Regions from separate parts of the Homo sapiens genome. Here regions 2 and 3 are each linked to region 1. Evidence: promoter capture Hi-C in 16 types of primary human blood cells and fetal thymus (Javierre and others, 2016). All regions are on one chromosome and are shown on one strand. Each heading gives the region's core, a stretch centred on a gene start or on the middle of the fragment in contact. The rest is flanking DNA. Distances are from core to core; before and after follow the strand shown. Region 1 holds the start of OGDH (oxoglutarate dehydrogenase). Region 2 overlaps CCM2 (CCM2 scaffold protein). Region 3 overlaps LOC105375262 (a long non-coding RNA gene).

Region 1 (4,874 bases), core at 1,610-4,109:
ATTACAGGTGTGAGCCATTGTGCCCAGCCTGGTTCAACTTTTATCAGTAACAAAATGATGAGTTGTTTTTCAGTTACAATAGATCCCCAGGCTGCAAGTCACGTAACCTAAGTATGCCCAGATGAACAAAGTGTGCCTGATAGCTGACCCTGGTGTCGGTGGGAACACAAAAGTCAACCACAGGCAGGACTTAACCACTCAAATGGAGGAATGGACACCAAATTAGGAAGCATGGGGCGCCTTGTTTTGCTGCAATATGAACTTAAAAGCCAAAGATCCAGCATTGCCCCTTTGCATGACCCAAACAGATCACACCTTGTTGTATTTTCCCATCTCCCTCATAGTTGCCTTCTGCCTATAAAACCTGCCCCCAGATTCCATCTTGGGGAGACAAATTTGAGTATTGCCTCTGGTTTCCCTGCTGGTCGACCTTACGATAAAGCCTTTTCTCAAAAGGTGATGACATAGTATTGGCTTCTATGTGCATCTAGCAGTGAGCCCACTGCTTGGTACCACAATGGGCTCAAACATTTATAAGCCAATGTTCATTGCAACATTATTCAAAACAGCAAAAAAGCAGAAATAACCAAGTGTCCATCAATAGATGAATAAATAAACAAAATGTGGTATATACATACAATGGAATATTATTCAGCCATAAAAAGAAATGAAGTTCTGGCCAGGCATGGGGGCTCATGCCTGTAATCCCAGCACTTTGGGAGGTCGAGGTGGGTGGATCACTTGAGGTCAAGAGTTCAAGACCAGCCTGGCCAACATGGTGAAACCCCATCGCTACTAAAAATACAAAATAAGCTGGGCGTAGTGGCGGGCGCTTATAATCCCAGCTACTTGAGAGGCTGAGGCAGGAGAATTGCTTGAATCTACAAGGCAGAGGTTGCAGTGAGCCGAGATGACACCACTGCACTCCAGCCTGGGCAACAAGAACGAAACACCATCTCAAAAATAAAAAAAGAAAGAAAGAAAAAGAAAAAAATATTAGCCAGGCATGGTGGAGCGTGCCAGTAGTCCCAGCTACTTGGGAGGCTGAGGCATCAGAATCACTTGAACCTGGGTGGCAGAGATTGCAGTGAGCTGAGATGGCACCACTGCCCTCCAGCCTGAAACCGAGGGAGATCCTGTCTCAAAAAAAAAAAAAAGAAATGAAGTTCTGACCCATGCTACAACACAGATAAACCTTGACAACCTCATGCTCAATGAAATAAGGTGGACACAAAAGGACATATACATTATGATTTCACCCACATAAAGTAATTGAGTAATCAAATGTATAGAGACCGTATAATAGAGGTTACCAAAGGAGAGAAGGACAGGAGGAGAAGGGGAAATAGGAAGTTATTGCTTAATGGTTACAGAGTTGCTGTTTCAGGTGATGAAAAAGTTTTGGAAATTGAGTGGTGACGGTTGCATAATATTGTGAATGTAATTAATGCCACTGAGTTATACACCTAAAAATGGTTAAAATGGCATTAAAAAAAAAAAGACAGTATCTTGCTCTCTGGCCCAGGCTGGAGTGCAGTGGTACAATCATAGCTCACTGCAGCCTCAATCTCTCAGGCTCAAGAGATCCTCCTGCCTCAGCCTCCCAATTAGCTGAGACTACAGGTGAGTGCCACTACACCTGGCTAATTTTCTTGATTTTTTAGTAGAAATGAGATCTTGCTCTGTTCCCCAGGCTGATCTGGAACTCCTGAGCTCAAGCGATCCTCCCGCCTCCACCTCCCGAAGTGCTGGGATTACAAGCGTGAGCCACTGCACCCAGCTGCAAATGTTTAGTACATACATTTTTACCGTAATTTATTTAAAAAAAAAAAAGGAAAAAAGAATACAGAAGTTTGTTCCTTGGTCTCTTCACCTCTTCCAGTCTCTAGATCCTTGTCACATACATTACCCTAACTTTGTTCTATAATAAGCACTTATACGCCCCCTTTTTTTGTTTGTTTTTTGAGACGGATTTTCGCTCTTGTTGCCCAGGCTGGAGTGCAATGGCACGATCTCGGCACACCGCAACCTCCGTCTCCCGGGTTCTAGCGACTCTCCTGCCTCAGCCTCCCGAGTAGCTGGGATCGCCACCACGCCCAGCTAATTTTTGTATTTTTAGTAGAGACGGGGTTTCCCCATGTTGGTCAAGCTGGTCTCGAACTCCTGACCTCAAGTGATCCGCCCGCTTCGGCCTCCCAAAGTACTGGGATTACAGGCGTGAGCCACCGCGCCCGGCCTTTCCCCAAATTTTAATACTTTAAAATAGGGAACATCTTACAATCAACAGGTTGTGACAGGTTAATTAGCCACGTTTTATCTTTGATAGGTAGCTCTAAAGTCAAGAAAACCCAGGCAAGATCCCGGGCAAGATCCCAGCACTGCCAACTGTCATTTGTAGACCGGGGATAGGAACACCTGTCTCACAGATTGTTACACAATAGCGCCGGTGAAGCGCTTGTCACAAAGCCTGACCCAGGACAATCTCAAAAACGGAGATTCTGTTATTCAAATTGTTTATTTTTGTGCGCTAAGTTTCACATCAACCCAACTATCTCTTGATAGGTTCCTACCAGGCGCTAGAGATATCTTACTTTCAGAAATTATTTATGATAGCAGAAGCCGCTGGAAGTCCATAGACAACCTCATCTCTCTAGCGGAGCAAACAGCTGGGCTCCAGCTGGCCCTGGCTTCTGCAACTGCGCAGTCGGCGCTGTGACGCCCGGCGCGGCTCTGTGACGTCACGAATCGGTCCTCTGTAAGAGGGGAGGGCATTCTTCTCCAGGGGAGGGCTACGTGTTGACGCCATACGCCGGGGCGGGGCCGAGAGTTTGGAGCCCCGGAGTGGGGTGTCGGCGCCTCATTCGGGTGGAGCTGAGCCGGAGACAGGTAACCGTGCGCTGTCGCCGCGCCCGTCCCAGTGCCGGGTGTCGCGGCGCTTGGCGGCCCGGGGTTGGAGATCGCGGTAAAGGGGGAGGCCGCCGCGCCCTTGGTGCTGCGGGCGCCGCGGTGACAGGGGAGTGGAGCTGGATGGAGTGGGGCTCACGGAGGGTGGTAGGAGGGACGGGACCTGATGGATGGCCGTGGCAGCCAATGGAGCCGCGGGGCCTGCCCGGCGGGCGGAGATTGGCGGGTACGGGCGGGCTCCGAGGTCGCGCGGGGCGCGGAGCGACGCGCCATTGGCGGTGGGCGAGCGGGGGGCGGGCGCGGCGGCGGATGTGAGGGAGAGGGCGGTGCGTCCGCAGGGGTGACCCCCAAGGTCGCCGCGGGCGTCACGTGGTTAGGCCGCTCTCCGACGGCGTCCTTCCCGACCGGGACGCACTCTCCTTCCCGCCTGTGAGGACCGCGTCGCTTTGTCCGAAAGACAGTGTGGCCTGCTCGAGTTGCGTCGGAGCATCTGGCTTTGGGGTGGCCCTGGGTGGGACTGCCTGTTTGGATTACCGCGCAGACCTTGGCGCCGCCCCCACACCTGCTGCCAGAAGTTGGGTCGAACAGATTGACCGAGATGAAGCTTATTTCTCGTAGAAACATCTTTCAAGCACCATTTTCCCTCGAAAATATATCAGACATTGGATATGAGTTGTAATCTACTGAGATTTAATAGAAAACTTGCCGCGCCCTCGCCCTGACCTGGGTGCGTCCCACCTGCCATCCCCATCCCTTTGCCCAGAACATAGGACTTCGTGTTAGGGTTTCCTTGTGCCTTGTCTTGCAGTCCGTACTTTGAGGCTGATTTCCAGGTACACTGCTCTGAACAGCTGGGTTTAGGATGGGTGGCATGGGATAAAGCCTTTTTTTGTAAGGCAGCACTAGTTGCAACAGTCAAACTGTACTTTGCCGTGTAGACCTAGGAGAGTATGTAACACTATTGTAGTTTTGTAAATTAGCTGAGGACTGGATCTTGGGAAGTTGAATAAAGATCACTGTATGCTCATTTTTTGTTGTTGTTGTCTTGTTTGAGATGGAGTCTCTGTCGCCCAGGCTGGAGTGCTGTGGCGCGATCTCGGCTCACTGCAACCTCTGCCTTCCTGGGTTCAAGTGATTCTCCTGCCTCAGCCTCCCAAGTAGCTGATATTACAGGCACGCGCCATCACGCCCGGCTAATTTTTGTATTTTTAGTAGAGACGGGTTTTCACCACCTTGGCCAGGCTATTCTCGAACTCCTGACCTCAGGTGATCCGCCCGCCTCGGCCCCCAAAGTGCTGGGATTACAGGCGTGAGCCACTGCGCCCGGCCCCTCATTATTTTTTTTAAGCGCACTTTTCACATTTCAGTTACTTTTTCCCTTTAAATAACATCTTTATTGAGATAAAATTCACATACCATACGATTCACCCATTTGACGTGCACAATTTCGGCCAGTCGTGGTGGCTCACGTTTGTAATCCCCACACTTTGGGAGTGTGAAAGGAAGATCCCTTGAGCTCAGTTCAAGGAGACCAGCCTGAGCAACCAAAGTGATACCCGGCGTCTACAAAAAATAAAATTATCCGGATATGGTGGCATATACCACATATACTTGTAGTCGCAACTACTCAGGAGGCTGAGGCGGGAGGATGGCATGAGCCAGGGAGGTCCAAGCTGCAGTGAGCCATTATTGCCCCACTGCACTCTAGCCTGGGTGACACAGTGAGATCCTGTCTCAAAAAAAAAGGCCGGGCGCAGTGGCTCACGCCTGTAATCCTAGCACTTTGGGAGGCCGAGGTGGGTGGATCCCCTGAGGTTGGGAGTTTGAGACCAGCCTGGCCAACATGGTGAAACCCTGTCTCTACTAAAAATACAAAAGTTAGCAGGGCATGGTGGCGTGGGCCTGTAGTCTCAGCTACAGGCTGAGCTCCTCCAGCCTCAGCAGGAGGCTGAGGCAGGAGAATCGCTTGA
Region 2 (4,874 bases), core at 1,113-3,612, 410 kb after region 1:
TTTGATGAAAGGGAGGGGGAGGTGAGGATGAAAAAAGGGTAAAGGTCAGTTACACAGCTCAGCCCTGACCAACATGTTCCTGTGCCTTGCTGAACACATTGGCTTAAGCTGGGCCCTGGGTATCTCAGTTTTCCCCATGTCTTGCATGTTGAGGCAGAGTTGGTCCCAGACATGCCTTCTCTAATCCTATGGCATGTGTGCCAGTCCAGAGGTGGCCCAGGACGTCCTGGTTCCTTAAGCGTGGCCCTGATGAAGGGGAAGGGATAGTGAGAAGACACAGGATAAAAAGCCAGTTAGAGAGCTCATCTCTGGACATGCTTCCCGTCTTGTCCTTGACATGCATGCTGACCCACTGCTGGGCCTTGGGCATTCTGCCCTTTTCAGCTTGACAGACTGATGCTGCCCCCACCTCCCCATCCGAAAGCCATGATTTGACATTTTTAAAAGACCGAAGAAAAGAAAGAAAATTTATCTTTTCTGTTTATCCCTCCTTTTATCATTTTTAGCACTTTTATTTCCTCTGGAAAATTTCCATCTGGAATAATTTACCTTTGGCCTTGTCAACTTAAAAATTCAAGAAATGTACATATTTGGAAAGGATACTTTATTTCTTACAAAGAGTTGCAACCTGTAGGCTGGCCATCCCACAGGCTGGGAAGCGTAGCCTTTGGCAGAGCCTGAAAGGTAGGCACTTCAGAGGAGGAGGGGTTGGAACAGGAATTTGTGCTGAATGGGTTTGTGCTGACCAAGTATATACATATTCAACAGGTTATAGGAGGAGTTATGAATATTCATGGAGGGGGTCCTGATGCATGTGTACTGAACAGACATGCAATTTATTTTATTTTATTTATTTTTTTTGAGACAGTTTCACTCTTGTTGCCCAGGCTGGAGTGCAATGGCGCGATCTTGGCTCACTGCAACCTCTGCCTCCCGGGTTCAAGCGATTCTCCTGTCTCAGCCTCCTGAGTAGCTGGGATTACTGGCGCATGCCACCAGGCCTGGCTAATTTTTGTATTTTTAGTAGAGACGGGGTTTCATTATATTGGTCAGGCTGGTCTTGAACTCCTGACCTCAGGTGATCCACCCGCCTCAGCCTCCCAAAGTGCTGGATTACAGGCATGAGCCACTGTGCCTGGCCCAAACATGCATCTTTTTTTTTTGAGATGGAGTCTTGCTCTGTTGCCCAGGCTGGAGTGCAGTGGCGCGATCCTGGCTCACTGCAACCTCCGCCTCCCAGGTTCAAGCGATTCTCCTGCCTCAGCCTCCCAAGTAGCTGGGATTACAGGCGCCTACCACCACGCCTGGCTAATTTTTGTATTTTTGGTAGAGACAGGGTTTCACCATGTTGACCAGGCTGATCTCTAACTCCTGGCCTCAAGTGATCTGACTGTCTCGGCCTTCCAAAGTGCTAGGATTACAGGCGTGAGCCACCTCGCTTGGCTAATTTTTTTTGTATTTTTAGGAGCGACAGGGTTTCACCATGTTAGCCAGGATGGTCTCGATCTCCTGACCTCGTGATCCACCTGCCTCGGCCTCCCAAAGTGCTGAGATTACAGGCGTGAGCCACTGCATCTGGCCCAAACATTCATTTTTAAAAGAACTTTTAGGTTCAGGGGTACATGTGCAGGTTTGTTATATAGGTAAACATCTGTCATGGGGATTTGGTGTATAGATTATTTCATCACCCAGGTACTAAGCGTAGTATCTGACAGTTATTTTTTCCAGACAGGCATGTTCTTTGCATTCCATGTTCACTTTGAGGTGGAGACAACATTATATTCAGGCCCCATACCTCAAAAGGTGAAGCAAGGAGACAGGGCACTCAAGTGCACAGCCTCTATAAACTGGCTAGAACCAGTCTGTGGCTGGTGGTCTTCTTGTCAGGAGAGAGTTACTGAAGTCAGTCTCTTATACAGTCACAGCTATAGTTTTGGCTTGTGGAACAGGAGGTCAGTTGGCATCTGGTGGTGAGTTGCAGTTGTTTTCCTATTGCTTATCCAGGACAGTGCTTGTTTGGCTGCTAGAGAAAAAGAAGAACCCTGTGGCAGTTAGAACAGAGTTGATCTTGAAGAGTCAGACTGTGTGGCTGAATCCTTACCTGGCACGGTCGTAGGTCTTGTTTATAATTTGGTGTCTTTTTTTCCCCATGATCTTCATGAACGCATGTAATTTGGTATTTTATTGCCACAGAGTCCATTCTGTCAGTTTTGTGGTCTCTATTTTAACATTAATGCTGGTCAGTTGTGCCTGAACTACAAAAGGGAGGGAATATAATGAGGTGCGTCCCAAGGCATCTTGTCATGGCTGGAACCAAAACAGGCTTTGTTCAGTCAGTTGGAGTGCTTAGGATTTTATTTTTAGTTCTTAGCCTGAAGACCTTGCTTAGAATTTTTCATGGTGTAGGTCTGACACATTGTTTCACCTTTTATTATCTGAAAATACCTTCATTTCATCTTCATTTTTGAAGGATAGTTTTACAGCAGCAGTCCCCAACCTTTTTGACACCAGGGACCGGTTTCGTGGCAGACAGTTTTTCCATAGACCAAAGTGGGGAAAAGGTTTTGGGATGAAACTTCCATATCAGATCATCAGGCATTAGATTCTCTAAGGAGTGCGTAACCTAGATCCCTCCAACACACAGTTCAGGGTTTGTACTCTTATGAGAATCTAATGCAGCCACTGATCTCACAGGAGGCGGGGCTCAGGTGGTAATGCTTGCTGGCCCTCCACTCACCTCCTGCTGTGTGCGGCCTGGCTCCTAACAGGCCACGGACCCAGACCAGTCTGTGGCCTGGGGGCTGGGGACCTCTGTTTTACAGGATATAGAATTCTAGGTTGACTGTTTTCTTTCAGCATTTTTTATTATTTATTTATTTATTTATTTTGAGATAGAGTCTCGCTTTGTCACCCAGGCTGGAGTGCAGTGGCGTGATCTTGCTCACTGCAACCTCCACCTCCTGGGTTCAAGTGATTCTTTTGCCTTAGCCTCCTGGGTAGCTGTGATTATAGGCACATACCACCACGCCCAGCTAATTTTTTTTTGTATTTTTAGCAGAGATGGGGTTTCACCATGTTGATGGGGCTGGTCTTCAACTCCTGACCTCCAGTGATCTGCCTGCCTGAGCCTCCCAAGGCGTGAGCCACCATGCCCAGCTTCTTTTGGCATTTTAAAGATGAAGACTCATTATCTTCTGGCATCCATTTTTTCTCTTGAGAAGTTACCTGTCATTTTTGTTGTACTGAATGTCTTTTATTTGACAGTTTTAAGAATTTCTTTTTTTTTTTTTTGAGATGGAGTCTTACTCTGTCGCCAGGCTGGAGTGCAGTAGCGCAATCTCAGCTTACTGCAACCTCTGCCTCCCAGATTCAAGTGATTCTCCTGCATCAGCCTCCCAAGTAGCTGGGATTACAGGCATGCACCACCATGCCAGGCTAATTTTTGTATTTTTAATAGAAATGTGGTTTTGCCATGTTGACCAGGCTGGTCTCGAACTCCTGACCTCAGATGATCTGCCTGCCTCGGCCTCCCAAAGTGTTGGGATTATAGGCGTGAGCCACTGCGCCTGGCCTTTTTTTTTTTTTTTTTTTTTTGAGACAGGGTCTCACTCTGTTGGCCAGGCTGGAGTGCTGTGGCGTGATCTCGGCTCACTGCAACCTTGCAACCTCCGCCTCCCGGGTTCAAGTGATTCTCCTGCCTCAGCCTCCTGAGTAGCCGGGACTACAGGCATGCACCACTGTGCCCGGCTAATGAAAAAAGTTTTTTAAATATAGATGGAATCTCAGTATGTTGCTCAGGCTGGTCTTGAACTCCTGGCCTCAAGCCATCCTCCTGCTTCCGCCTCCTGGGATTACAGGAATGAGCCACCGCACCTGGCTGGGTTTTATACTTTGGTTTGGTAGATCAGTTTTGATCTTTGTCCTTACTCTTAGGGTAAATTTCTTAGTCCTGGAATGTATGTTTTACTCCTAAGATGTGGCCTTTGTGGGGTTTCAAATGGATAGTCTCAAGTGTTTAAGGTACTGATTAAGCCCCTTTAACTTGGCAGGACTTGGACTCCAAACTCTTATCTACCCTGCAGCTAGGGAGAGCTAAAATCTCAGCTTTTTTTTTGAGACGGATCTTGCTCTGTTACCCAGGTTAGAGTGCAATGGTGTGATCATAGTTTACTGTGACCTTAAACTTCTGGGCTCAAGCAATTCTCCTACCTTAGCCTCCCAAGTAGGTAGGACTACAGGCATGCACTATCTGGCTAATTTTTATTTTTGTAGAAATGGGGTCTCACTATGTTGCCCAGGCTGGTTTCAAACTCCTGAACTCAAGTGATCTTCCTGCCTTGGCCGCCCAAAGTGCTGGGATTATAGGCATGAGCTCCCGCACCCAGCCATCAGCTTGCTCCTTCAACCTTCAAGCTATCGTGTCCTTTCTGGGCTTGTGGGAGTCTCACCTCCGCTTACGCAGTTCAGGGTTCAGCCAAAGATTTGAGGGGACCTTATACTCAGACTTTGGGTTCCTTTTTTAGTGGGTTCCTCCTTTCCTATATTTCCCTCTCAATTTCCAGCTTCTTTAGCAGTCTCAAATCCTCCTTTAACCTGTCAGGCCAATAAAATTGCAGCTTTTTTTTCTCTGCTCCACTCCTCTGAGACTGGGGCATACTCTCAGGAGTAAAGCAATATAAAAGTGGATCTTGCCCAGTGATGTTCCCTTCTTTCAAGGGTCATATAAATTCCAAGCTTCTTTTTTATTTCTTGTTTGTCTCCAGTGTCTTTAGAAGATTGTTTTTCACATTTTATCTAGAGTTCATAATCTCGGTCTGTGAGAAAGTTATTTTGATACAGTCTACTTCTCTCTTAAGGGAATAAGAACTTCTTTG
Region 3 (4,874 bases), core at 1,755-4,254, 310 kb after region 1:
AGCATACAATAAAATACTCAGTATGTGTGCTGAGCACAGTGGCTTCTTCCTTTTTTTTTTTTTTTTTTTTTTTTTTTTTGAGAGAGAGTTTCCCTCTTGTCACCCACTTTCCCTCTTGTCCACTGCACTAGAGTGCAGTGGCGACATCTCTGTTCACTGCAACCTCCGCCTCCCGGGTTCAAGCAATTCTCCTGCCTCAGCCTCCCAACCAAGTAGCTGGGATTATAGGCATGTGTCACCACGCCCGGCTAATTTTTGTATTTTTAGTAGATACGGGGTTTCTCCATGTTGGTCCAGCTGGTCTCGAACTCATGACCTCAGGTGATCCACTTGCCTCAGCCTTCCAAAGTGTTGGGATTACAGGTATGAGCCACCGCACCCGGCTGGCTTGCACTTGTTATACAAACGCGTTGAGAGGCCAAGGCAGGAGGATTGCTTGAGGCTAGGAGTTCAAGACCAGCCTGGACAATATGGTGAGACCATATCTCTACAAAAAATAAAAAATTGTCCAGGAGTGGTAGTGTGCACCTATAGTCTCAACTACTTGGGAGGCTGAAGCGGGAGGTTTGCTAGAGCCCAGGAGTTTGATGTTACAGTAAGCAATGATGGCAACACTACAACATTGCCACTTCAGCTTGGACAACAGAGTGAAACCCTGTCCCCCTGAAAACTCCCAAAAACCTCAGCATAAAAATAAGTAAATAAATAAATAAAATGTGCAGACAAACTAAAGCCAGCCGGAACGGCTAATAAGAGAGAAAATGAATCAAGATTTGAAAAAAACACAGGAGGCTGGGTGAGATGTGAGATGGCTCACACCTGTAATCCCAGCACTTTGGGAGGCTGAGGCAGGAGGATCGCTTGAGCTCAGTAGTTTAATATCAGCCTGGCCATGGTGGAGAAACCCCGATTCTACGAAAATTTAAAAAAAAAAGAAGAAGAAGAGGCTGAGTATGTGGTGCGTGCTTATGGTCTCAGCTACTCATGAGGCTGAGGTAGGGAGATCACTTGAGCCTAGACATTTGAGGCTGCAGTGAGCTGTGATTGCGTCACTGCACTTCAGCCTGGGTGACAAAGTGAGACCTTGCCTCAAAAAACAAAGCAAAACAAAACAAATCCACAAGAGACCCTGGCAAAGATCTCTGTGCGAGGCAGAGAACTTCAGTGGTTCAGCTGCACCCCCACAATGTTTATTAAAATTAATCTATGAACATAGACAAAGATTCAAAGGCAGCACAGAAAATGATTTTATTCGTAGGCATGGTAGAATTGTGGGTGCCTTTTTCCTTTTCCTTAAAATTCCTATGTTTCCCAATTTAACTACTGTGCAAATACTACTAATAAAGAAATCCTGTATGAAAGACAAGATTGGAGAAACCAGGTTGACAGCAGCTCAAGAGAAGGAGGCTCAGAAAGGCCTGGCCTCAGGCTCTGTCATTGTGGGTGGGGCCCGCAGAGCAGTTCAGGAGGATGAGTCCAGACTGGGCAACACAAGAAAAAAGGAAGACCACAGAATGGGACAAAATAATTGCAAAGCATACATCTGATATGGGATTAATATGCAGGCTATCATATAAAGAATTAAAGCTGAGGTTGGGCATAGTGGCTTGTGCCACCATGGATCACCTGAGGCCAGGAGTTCAAGACCAGGCTGAGCAACATAGTGAAACCCTGTTTCTACAAAAGATAAAAATAAAAATAAGGCCAGGCACGGTGGCTTCCACCTGTAATCTCAGCACTTTGGGAGGACAAGTGGGCAGATGAGTTTCAGACCAGCCTGGTCAACATGGGGAAACCTCGTTTCTACTAAAAATACAAACATTAGCCAGGCATGGTGGTGCACACCTCCTGGTCTTGGGAGGCTAGGCCCGAGAATCACTTGAACCCGGGAGGTGGAGGTTGCAGTGAGCACTCCAGCCTGGGTGACACAGTGAGACTTTGTCTCAAAAATAAATAAATGAATAAATAAAAATAAAAAGTAGAAATTAGGTGGGTGGGTATGGTGGCTCACGCCTGTAATCCCAGCACTTTGGGAGGCCGAGGCAGGTAGATCATGAGGTCAGGCGTTCGAGACCAGCCTGGCCAACACAGTGAAATCCCATCTCTACTAAAAATATAAAAAATTAGCCAGGCATGGTGGTGGGCGCCTGTAACCCCAGCTACTTGGGAGGCTGAGGCAGGAGAATCGCTTGAACCTGGGAGGCAGAGGTTGTGGTGAACCAAGATTGCACCATTGCACTCCAGCCTGGGCAACAAGAGTGAAACTCCGTCTCAGAAAGAAAGAAAGAAAGAAAGAAAGAAAGAAAGAAAGAAAGAAAGAAAGAGAGAGAGAGAGAGAGAGAGAGAGAAAGAAAGAAAGAAAGAAAGAAAGAAAGAAAGAAAGAAAGAAAGAAAGAAAGAAAGAAAGAAAAGAAAGAAAGAAATTAGCCAGGCATGGTGGCACACGCCTGTAGTTATAGCTACTTGAGAGGCTGAGATAGGAGGATTGCTTGAGCTCAGAAGTTGGAGGCTACAGTGAGCTATAATTGCGCCACTGCACTCCAGCCTAGGTGACAGAGCAAGATACTGTCACTAAAAAAAAAGAAAAAAAGCGGCGGGCGCGCTGGCTCACGCCTGTAATCCCAGCACTTTGGGAGGCTGAGGCGGGCAGATCACGAGGTCAGGAGATTGAGACCATCCTGGCTAACACGATGAAACCCCGTCTCTACTAAAAATACAAAAAATTAGCTGGGCATGGTGGCGGGCACCTGTAGTCCCAGCTACTCGGGAGGCTGAGGCAGGAGAATGGCATGAACCCAGGAGGTGGAGCTTGCGGTGAGCAGAGATGGTGCCACTGCACTCCAGTCTGGGTGACAGAGCAAGACTCTGTCTCAAAAAAAAAAAAAAAAAAAAAGAACAAAAACTCAACAATAAAAAACCCACATAACCCAATTCAAAAATGGCAAAGGACCTGACAAAGCATTTCTCTGGAGAAGACATACAAATGGCCTACAGCACATGAAAGGACCTAGTGCTCACTTTGCATAAGTCACCGACTGAATACTTAGGATATATATCTGTTATACTTCAATTAAAAAGTTTAAAATGTATTACGGGGACCCTGGGGGGTCATTTAGATGGTAATGATTTGGCTGACCAAACTTCTAGATCCTAGAAATCCATGCGTCTTGATTGCCAAACTTCAGGCCTGGCCTTGGAAGAAAGACGTTGGCAGGAACCCAAGGAGGTTCAGGGGTCAGGGGTCAGCAGTCAGGGTGAATGGGGATCCAGGCTGCAGCCCATACAGCCAGGGCTAGTGCTGGGCTCAGTCCCAGCAGGAAGTCACAAGGCCAGGAGGCAGATGGCCTCTGCAGCAGGGCAGAGTGGGGCTGAGGCCCGGGCCCGTGTGGTGTCTCAGTCTGGGGTGACCGTTGAAGCTGCCCGTGTCCTGCCCTGATCTCTCATGGCTTCTGGCCGGTGGTCCTGGGCCTGCAGCCAGCAAGGCAGAATGACAGGCAGGGACTGTGTCCCGGTGGGTTCTTGCCAAGAAGGGACCCAGTCCCCCACTGTGGCCCATGCCTTTCCATCTGTGACTTGTGACCCAATTCCATAGTCTTCCCACGGACCTGGGAAATTGCTTCATTCCCAATAATGGGAACTTTTTATGATGACTTTGCTGGTCTCAGAGGTATGCCAACTCAGCTCTCCAGAACTATAGGGAGAGACTGACACCCAGAGAGATGGCATGATTTGTCCCTGGGGGCAGAGTGAGAGAGAAGAGCCAGGGTTTCTAACAGCTGGGGCTCTCAGGCTCACTGCCCACCCCAGGGAGGGCAGTTTCAACTCTGCTCAGGACGGGTCAACACCTCTCCAAGTGCATTGTGGGCTGAGCCATATCTGAGAAACTGTTTAAAAGGAGGCATAAGAACATCATTTCTTTTAATTAAAAAAAAAATCTCAATTGCAAAACAAAATTGAGAGCCCAGGGGCTCATCACATTCCTGGTGCTGATGAAGTACAGAACTACAAGGCGGGGTTCTGTGCTTAAGGTCAGCTTTCTCTGCCATCTTCCCGACCCTTGCATCTACTTTCTCAGCTCTGGACAGTGTGGGATATTAGGAAAGGGCCGACTCCCATCCCATTTCCAGAAGCTGCAGTCTCTGCTCCTCACCAGCTGTGTGTTCTTCCATGTGGCTTGGCCAGATTCAGCAAATAGAGGCACCAGGAAGCACCAGGCACCCTGCTGCCCTCCCTTCAGCCTCGGGGGACATAGGCCCTGGCATGAGGAGGACCTGCATAGGCTTTCAGGAAGGAAAGCAGGAAATGGGCCCTGAGATAGGAATGTTTCTAAGGGCAGAATGGCCAGGCCGAGGTGAGGCAGGTCCTGGATCTGTCCAGGCCTCTTTCCTACCTGCCCTCCCACCCCCAACCCCCAGGCCCAGCCCCCGCCTTCAGATCAGCTGTCTACCTGAAGCTCCTTTCCTCCTGGCTGGTCACTGACTTCTGGCCACCACCAAGCTCACCACGTGGCTCTCTTTACAAACCTGCTTCACACACAGGCTGCTTCACACGCATGGTCCATTAGAGAGCCTGCTCCTGATGGCACACTTTGGGACACAGACACAAGCTGTCATTTGTTCAGACAGTATGGGAGTGCTCAGATTTAGAACCACTCAAAAATCATCCACAGTTATTGAGCACCTACTCTTTGTTGGATTCTGGGTCAGTAAAACCTGTATAGGACGGAGGTAGACAGGCTGTGAGAGTAGGGTGACTGATGGAATCCCGTAGTCGCTGTGTCCAGCCATCTAACTGAGCTGTAGGTAGCGTGGTAACTCAGTTTGTATTCAAAATATTGCTTCTCTGGCCAAGTGCACTCTGAGGTCCAAACAGTG

Evidence for each region. Contacts are between HindIII fragments. The CHiCAGO score rates a contact against its expected background, and 5 or more counts as called.
Region 2: a contact is called between a fragment that was not itself captured here and the fragment with the promoter of OGDH in region 1, in 2 of 17 cell types (monocytes and total B cells). The highest score is 8.3, in monocytes.
Region 3: a fragment that was not itself captured here is called in contact with the fragment with the promoter of OGDH in region 1 in 1 of 17 cell types (non-activated CD4 T cells); the score reaches 5.0 in non-activated CD4 T cells.

The regions. Positions count from the first base shown.
Region 1 is chr7:44,603,768-44,608,641 of GRCh38, forward strand. It overlaps OGDH (oxoglutarate dehydrogenase), which reads left to right and starts at 2,860. Exons shown (of 23, transcript NM_002541.4): 1 at 2,860-2,886. RefSeq lists enhancers at 2,420-3,019, 3,271-3,834, 3,510-3,849 and a silencer at 3,060-3,289. The HindIII fragment of the contact is 8,395 bases long and covers 1-3,506 here.
Region 2 is chr7:45,015,488-45,020,361 of GRCh38, forward strand. The region is part of intron 1 of CCM2 (CCM2 scaffold protein); the gene reads left to right. Among named protein-coding and RNA genes, the nearest start is that of CCM2, 18 kb to the left of the region's middle. The HindIII fragment of the contact is 4,740 bases long and covers 1-4,732 here.
Region 3 is chr7:44,908,748-44,913,621 of GRCh38, forward strand. LOC105375262 (a long non-coding RNA gene) reads left to right here. Exons shown (of 2, transcript XR_927228.2): 2 at 1-33. Among named protein-coding and RNA genes, the nearest start is that of PURB, 26 kb to the left of the region's middle. RefSeq lists enhancers at 2,855-3,356, 3,357-3,856. The HindIII fragment of the contact is 6,622 bases long and covers 1-4,874 here.